2 separate regions of the Homo sapiens genome follow, and region 1 is linked to region 2. The links are contacts of gene promoters, found by promoter capture Hi-C in human tissues and cell types (Jung and others, 2019). All regions are on one chromosome and are shown on one strand. The core of a region is centred on a gene start or on the middle of the fragment in contact, and the rest is flanking DNA. Distances in the headings are between cores, read along the strand shown. Region 1 overlaps SLC25A14 (solute carrier family 25 member 14). Region 2 holds the start of GPR119 (G protein-coupled receptor 119).

The links. Contacts are between HindIII fragments. The study calls those that stand out against the background at their distance.
Region 1: a contact is called between a fragment that was not itself captured here and the fragment with the promoter of GPR119 in region 2, in 1 of the 25 tissues and cell types used here (hippocampus).

What each region holds. Positions count from the first base shown.
Region 1 is chrX:130,349,862-130,353,017 of GRCh38, forward strand. SLC25A14 (solute carrier family 25 member 14) reads left to right here. Exons shown (of 11, transcript NM_001282195.2): 6 at 785-870. Among named protein-coding and RNA genes, the nearest start is that of SLC25A14, 12 kb to the left of the region's middle. The HindIII fragment of the contact is 3,303 bases long and covers 238-3,156 here.
Region 2 is chrX:130,384,210-130,387,172 of GRCh38, forward strand. GPR119 (G protein-coupled receptor 119) reads right to left here and starts at 1,465. Exons shown (of 2, transcript NM_178471.3): 1 at 227-1,465. The coding sequence starts at 1,238. The coding sequence ends at 231. The HindIII fragment of the contact is 3,374 bases long and covers 1-2,126 here.

The DNA of each region.
Region 1 (3,156 bases), core at 639-3,138, 34 kb before region 2:
CTTTCGGTTAGTAATGTCCTTTGAATCACTTTATTGTCCTAAAGTCAACTTTTTCTGAAGCCTTTTTTTGGGGATTGTGAAGGGTTCTCTTCCACCTCTTTCTGAAATATTTTTCTTTCATAGATTCTTCACTTGGGTTTATTTAGTTTCTATTTGTGGGGTCTTCATGGTGTGAAGGAGCGGTAAAGATTGAATTTCACTATAGAACAATGTGCTCTGTGGTTTCTTTGTTCTTTTTTCTCACTGAGGAGATTTAGTTCTAAATGATTGCTTTTTCATATTTGACTACAGAAATATTTTATAAATTAACAGAGGCTAGGAGAGATCTCAGGCCTATCAAAATTAATATTCAAATAAGTTTTTTGTATTAGACGTAAGATTTTCTCTTTTAACATTCAGTTCCTGAATCTTTAGAGTTGATGATTACCCAGAAAAAGACTTAAAAAGTATGTTCTTTAGATGTTTGAAAAGGTCGAAGGGGAAATACCACCTTCTGAATTTGTGTGTGGGATACTGATAGTTATGTAGAAGAAAAGGACGTGTTCCAGTGTCCTTTAGAAATAATGATGTTTTTAGAAATGATTTATATTTTACAAGTTTTAATATATTTTAGCACTGAATTGAGATCTAGAAATATTTGAGTTTCTTTATTTTCCTAAGCTTTTTGGTTCATTTCTAAAGTCATCTCTCTAACCAAGTTTCCCTTCCTCCAGTAGGTCAGTAGTATGTACTCAAACTGGTGCCTAATACAAGCAGACCTTTCTTTTTCTTTTCCTTTTCACAGATGAAACTCTTTTAATTAATATGATCTGTGGGGTAGTGTCAGGAGTGATATCTTCCACTATAGCCAATCCCACCGATGTTCTAAAGGTAAGAGAGATACAGTGTGATTTGAAAGGAGCATAACTTTGAGTCAGATTTGGGTTCAGATTCCCACTCTGTCACTTGCCAGCTGTAGAACCTTGGGCAAATCAGTTAACTGCATTAAGCCTCAATTTCATCATTTGAAAAATGAATATAATACAGTGTTTATAACATAGAGTTGTAAAGGATTAGCGATAATATATATATAAACTGCCTATCATTGTACTTGGTGTAGTAGATGCTCAATAAATGGCAGTCAGTTTATTATGATATGTGTTAATCCACTGGTCCTCACACTGGGGTATGCAAGACCCTATAGGTTCTTTCCAAGGGCTATGCAGTTTTATAGGAATCAATTTCCAGATCTCTTACATCCATTTGTACTCCATCCTAAAACTGGTACGAGAATGAATCTGTTCATAATAGCCCTTACTCAATTTTACAAAAGAAATGTACGTCCCCACCTATTCTAAATCTTGGTATGGTATGTTGACCTGTGGTATAACCTGGGATGCCAAACAGAGGGGTAAACTGAAATACAGTTCTTGGAGAAGCCTATTTTAGTAACCAATTTGGGTATCTTAAGTCTGTAATGCCTCTGTCTTTCCCTGTCTTATTAATATTTCTATTCAGGGTGAGATTTGGCTTTAAACATGGTATATTTTGGCCTGTATTGGAATATTCTGAATTCAGAACCAGAATAGTATAGGTTGGTGGTGCTGACTTGTTAAGAGTATAGTTGGATTTCTTTAAGGTTTTTTCAAGTCACAGACTGAAACATTTCTTTTAATATAAATTTTCATCTTATTTCATAAAATGGTAAATATTTTCTACTTATTAACGTATTTAAGCTTATGATTAGTTAAAAGCACTAAATATAGGATTAAAATAAGTGAGGGGAACCCAAAGTTTTAACAAATTATTTTAAGGGGATTGCGAGAAAAAAGTAAGAGGACACATGCTTTTTTAAATTTGACCACTAGTGAAACCACAAGTGGCTAGGTTAGCAAAGGAGAGATCTATTTATTGCAATTCAGAGAGGGGTTTGAGAACAGAGAGAAAGACATGAAAAACAACACACATGAAATAAACCACTGGTGGTTGATGGATAAAAATATGAGACAGTCTTTCTGGACTAAAATGATAGTAATTTACAGAATTTTTATATCATTTTAGGTTTACAGAACAAGTTTTTTTTTCACCGTTTATTTTAGATTCAGGGAGTACATGTGCAGGTTTATTACATGGGTATATTGTATGATGCTCAGGTTTGGGATATGAATGATCCCATCACCCAGATAGTGAGCACAGTACCCAACAGTTTTTCAACCCTTGTCCCCCTCCTTCTCTCCTGCCTCTATTATTCCCTGGTGTCTATTGTTGCCATCTTTGTCCATGAGTATGCAATATTTAGCTCCCACTTATAAGTGAGAACATGCTATCTTTGGTTTTCTGTTCCTGCATTAATTCATTTAGGATAATGGCCTCTGGCTCAATCCATGTTACTGCAAAGGACATGATTTTGTTCTTTTTTATGACTGCATAGTATTCCATGGTGTATATGTACCACATTTTCTTTATCCAGTCCAACGGTGGTGGGCACCTAGGTTGATTCCATGTCTTTGCTATTGTGAATAGTGCTGTGATGAACATAGGAGTGTATGTGTCTTTTTGGTAGAATTATTTATTTTCTTTTGGATATATACTCAGTAATGGGATTGCTGGGTTGAATGGTAGCTCTCTGTTTTAAGTTCCTTGAGAAGTCTCCAAACTGCTTTCCAAAGTGGCTGAACTAATTTACATTCCCACCAATGGTGTCTAAGCATTCCCTTTTCTCTGCAGCCTCGCCAGCATCTGTTGTTTTTACTTTTTAATAATAACCATTCTGACTGGTGTGAGATGGTATCTTGTTGTGGTTTGATTTACATTTCTCTGATGATTAGTGATATTGTGCATCTTTTTATGTTTGTTGGCTGCTTGTATGTCTTCTTTTGAGAAGTGTCCGTTCATGTCTTTTGCCTACTTTTTAATGGAGTTATTTGGTTTTTGCTTGTTGAATTAAATTCCTTATAGATGCTGGATACCAGATTTTCATCAGATGCATAGTTTGTGAATATTTTCTCCCATTCTATAGGTTGTTTCTTTACTCTGTTGGTAGTTTCTTTTGTTGGAAGAAGATTTTTAGTTTAATCAGGTCCCGCTTGTCAATTTTTTGTTTTGTTGCAATTGCTTTTGATGACTTAGTCATAAATTATTTCCCAAGGCCAATGCCCAGAATGGCGTTTCCTAGGT
Region 2 (2,963 bases), core at 215-2,714:
CATTTCAAAAGAAGGACAGGGAGGAGTGGCGATTTGAAAATGGGGAAACTGATTATAGAAGAAAGTCAGGACTCTGCCTCAGTTACCTGTCAGTCTGGGGGTGGGGGATGCTGGGACAGGGGTCAATTGCCTGAAGCAAGTGCTCTCATCCCCCTAGCTCCTGCTGATCTAGTTGGGGCTCCAGAGTGGGGAGGAGAAAGGCACTTTGAAACTTCTCTGCCCTTACCGTCTTAGCCATCAAACTCTGAGCTGGAGATAGTGACGATGTGACAGGAACTTTCCCTGGGCCTCTCTGGGCCACAATTCCTGGCCGAGAGAAAGAGGAGGAATGAGGTGAGCACCTTCTTCACTCCTAGGGCCATGTGGTAGAGCTGCAGTCGCACCTCCTTCTGCCAATAGGCATAGATGAGTGGGTTGAGCAGGGAGTTGCCCACGCCGAGCAGCCACAGGTACCGTTCCAGCACTAGGTAGAGGTGACACTCCTGGCAGGCCACCTGCACAATGCCAGTGATAAGGAAGGGGGTCCAGGATAGAGCAAAGCTCCCAATGAGAACAGACACAGTACGGAGAGCTTTGAAGTCGCTGGGAGTCCGTGGGGATCGATAACCTCCAGCCATGGCTCCTGCATGTTCCATCTTTCGAATCTGCTGGCTGTGCATGGAGGCAATCTTGAGCATGTCGCAGTAGAAGAAGACAAAGAGGAGCATGGCTGGGAAGAAGCCAACGCAGGAGAGGGTCAGCACGAAGTGAGGGTGAAATACAGCAAAGAAGCTGCACTGCCCTTTGTAGGCAGTCTGCTGGAACATGGGGATTCCGAGTGGGAGGAAGCCAATGAGGTAAGACACTAACCACAGCCCGGCAATGCAGGCCCCGGCCACGAACCCACTCATGATCTTCAAGTAGCGGAAGGGCTGCTTGATGGCAAGGTACCTGTCAAAGGTGATCAGCATGACCGTGAGGACAGAGGCAGCTGCGGAGGAAGTGACAAATGCCATCCGCAGGCTGCACAGGGTCTTCTGTGTGGGCCGAGAAGGGCTGGAGAGCTGGTCTGTGAGTAGGCCAGAGATGGCCACACCAATCAAGGTGTCAGCCACAGCCAGATTCAAGGTGAAGCAGAGACTGACACCATCATTCTTGTGGATCAACAGCAGCACAGCCACAGCCACTAGTGTGTTAGTAGCAATGATGAGGGAGGCCAGGACAGCAAGGATCACTCCAAATGAGAAAGATGATTCCATGTCTCGAAGTGGCAGGACTTCACTTACCAGGGCATGCTATCTCTCCAGCTGAAATTCTCATGGGCCAGGGGCAGAGGAGCTGTGGGTTCAGAGCTACAGCACGATTCTGGCCTTCGCTGGCAGTCCAGGCTGGCAGGTCGCCATCTTTGGGATCCTACAGGTCATGAAGAATTACTCACCCTCTCTTTTCAGTCCTCAGCCTCCTGCCTCTCCAGCTCTCTAAAGGCAGCAACTTCAGTATAGACCTCCCCCTGGGCCCTGAGCTAGTCCCTCCCCCTCCAACCAGCAAGTTACTAGACAACTCCCAAGTACCTGTACATGCTGTCTCGCCAGGCCCTCTCCCTTCACTGGTGCTTCAGGGACTCTGGAGGGACAGGGACATTCATCAGGTCTCCTGTCTGTCAAAAGATATAATTGACTCCAATCATACTTTTTTCTTCCTCCATACCTTGACATTAAATTTCTACTTTTCTTCCAAAACCTCGAGTACCAGCTTAAATAATTAATCTCAGCTTAATTAAGCTTTTTCTTACTAATTCTCAATTACTATTATGAATTGCTTTTAATCAAGCAAGATGCTCATAATCAGTTGAAGTGGGAAGTGAGGGAAGGTGAGCTTTTTGAGGGGCCCCAGCATATTTTCAGGAGTGCTACCACACATTTAAGCTGTTTCTTACCTTTTGCTTCCTAGCGCCTCAAATTCTAATTCTCTCAAGTAGGGCGTGCTGTTCCCCCGTTTCTCATCCCTAGGATCTCAGTTGAGGATTCAGGACAGGAAAAACAGGGCCAAAAACTGTTAACAGCTGTCATTCAGTTTAGAACCCATTCTCCACCTCACGCTGCTGTCTCTCAAGTATACTAATTGATAATTATTTCTGCAGCATGTTGGGCCAGGTCTGGTCAGTGAGTAGTGGCTGCTGGGCTTGCCTTTCTTAATCCTATAGACCTGAGGTATCTCTGCGGGAGGAGAAGAGGAGATGAGCTGCATTCTGGGAAGTGTCTGCTTGATGTTTGGCTATGGAATTTTCCATTTTCCAGGAATAGGAACGTGGGGGCGGTTGAGGGGGGGAGGTTAGACCAAAGGGCAACTGTGTTGCTGAAGCAGGTGAGATGCACTCTGGAGGGGCAGCTGCATAAGTCACTCCTGTTTTAGGATGTGTATCCATTTGCTTGGGTACATTAGAACTACCCTTTCGCCTGCCACTCTCATCTTGGATACCAAGAAGAGAGGGGTGGGGAGAAGAGTGGTTAGAAGCTTATTTACTCAGTTCAGGTGAGAGCACAAATGGGAAAGGTTAGTGTTTGAAGTGAGGGAATAGAGAGCAAGGTGCAGAGTTGGACGCAAATATATTCCAGGATGTTTTGACAGTCTGAGAGGGCCTTTGGCAGATGTCTCTCCTAAAAAAGGATCAGAAAGACTGTGTTGTGGGGATTCAGTATTCTAGTTGCCATCCTGAAAACAGTTCTTATTCTTTGGTATGTCCATTAGGAGATTGATTCCAGTTGCTTAGAACCTAGCCTAATTTTATACCTGGACCTAAGGTGTGCTTGGGTTTCCCCAGCTCTTGACTCCACGGAGTCAAGTTAGCCCTTTTCAAACCCATGTTCAAACTTGAGAGTGTATCAGAATCACCTGGAGGGTGTCTTAAAACCCAGGTTCTTGGGTCCTACTCCCAGAGTTTCAGGTCATTGGTGAGTCTGAGAATCTGCATTTCTTTCTTTCTT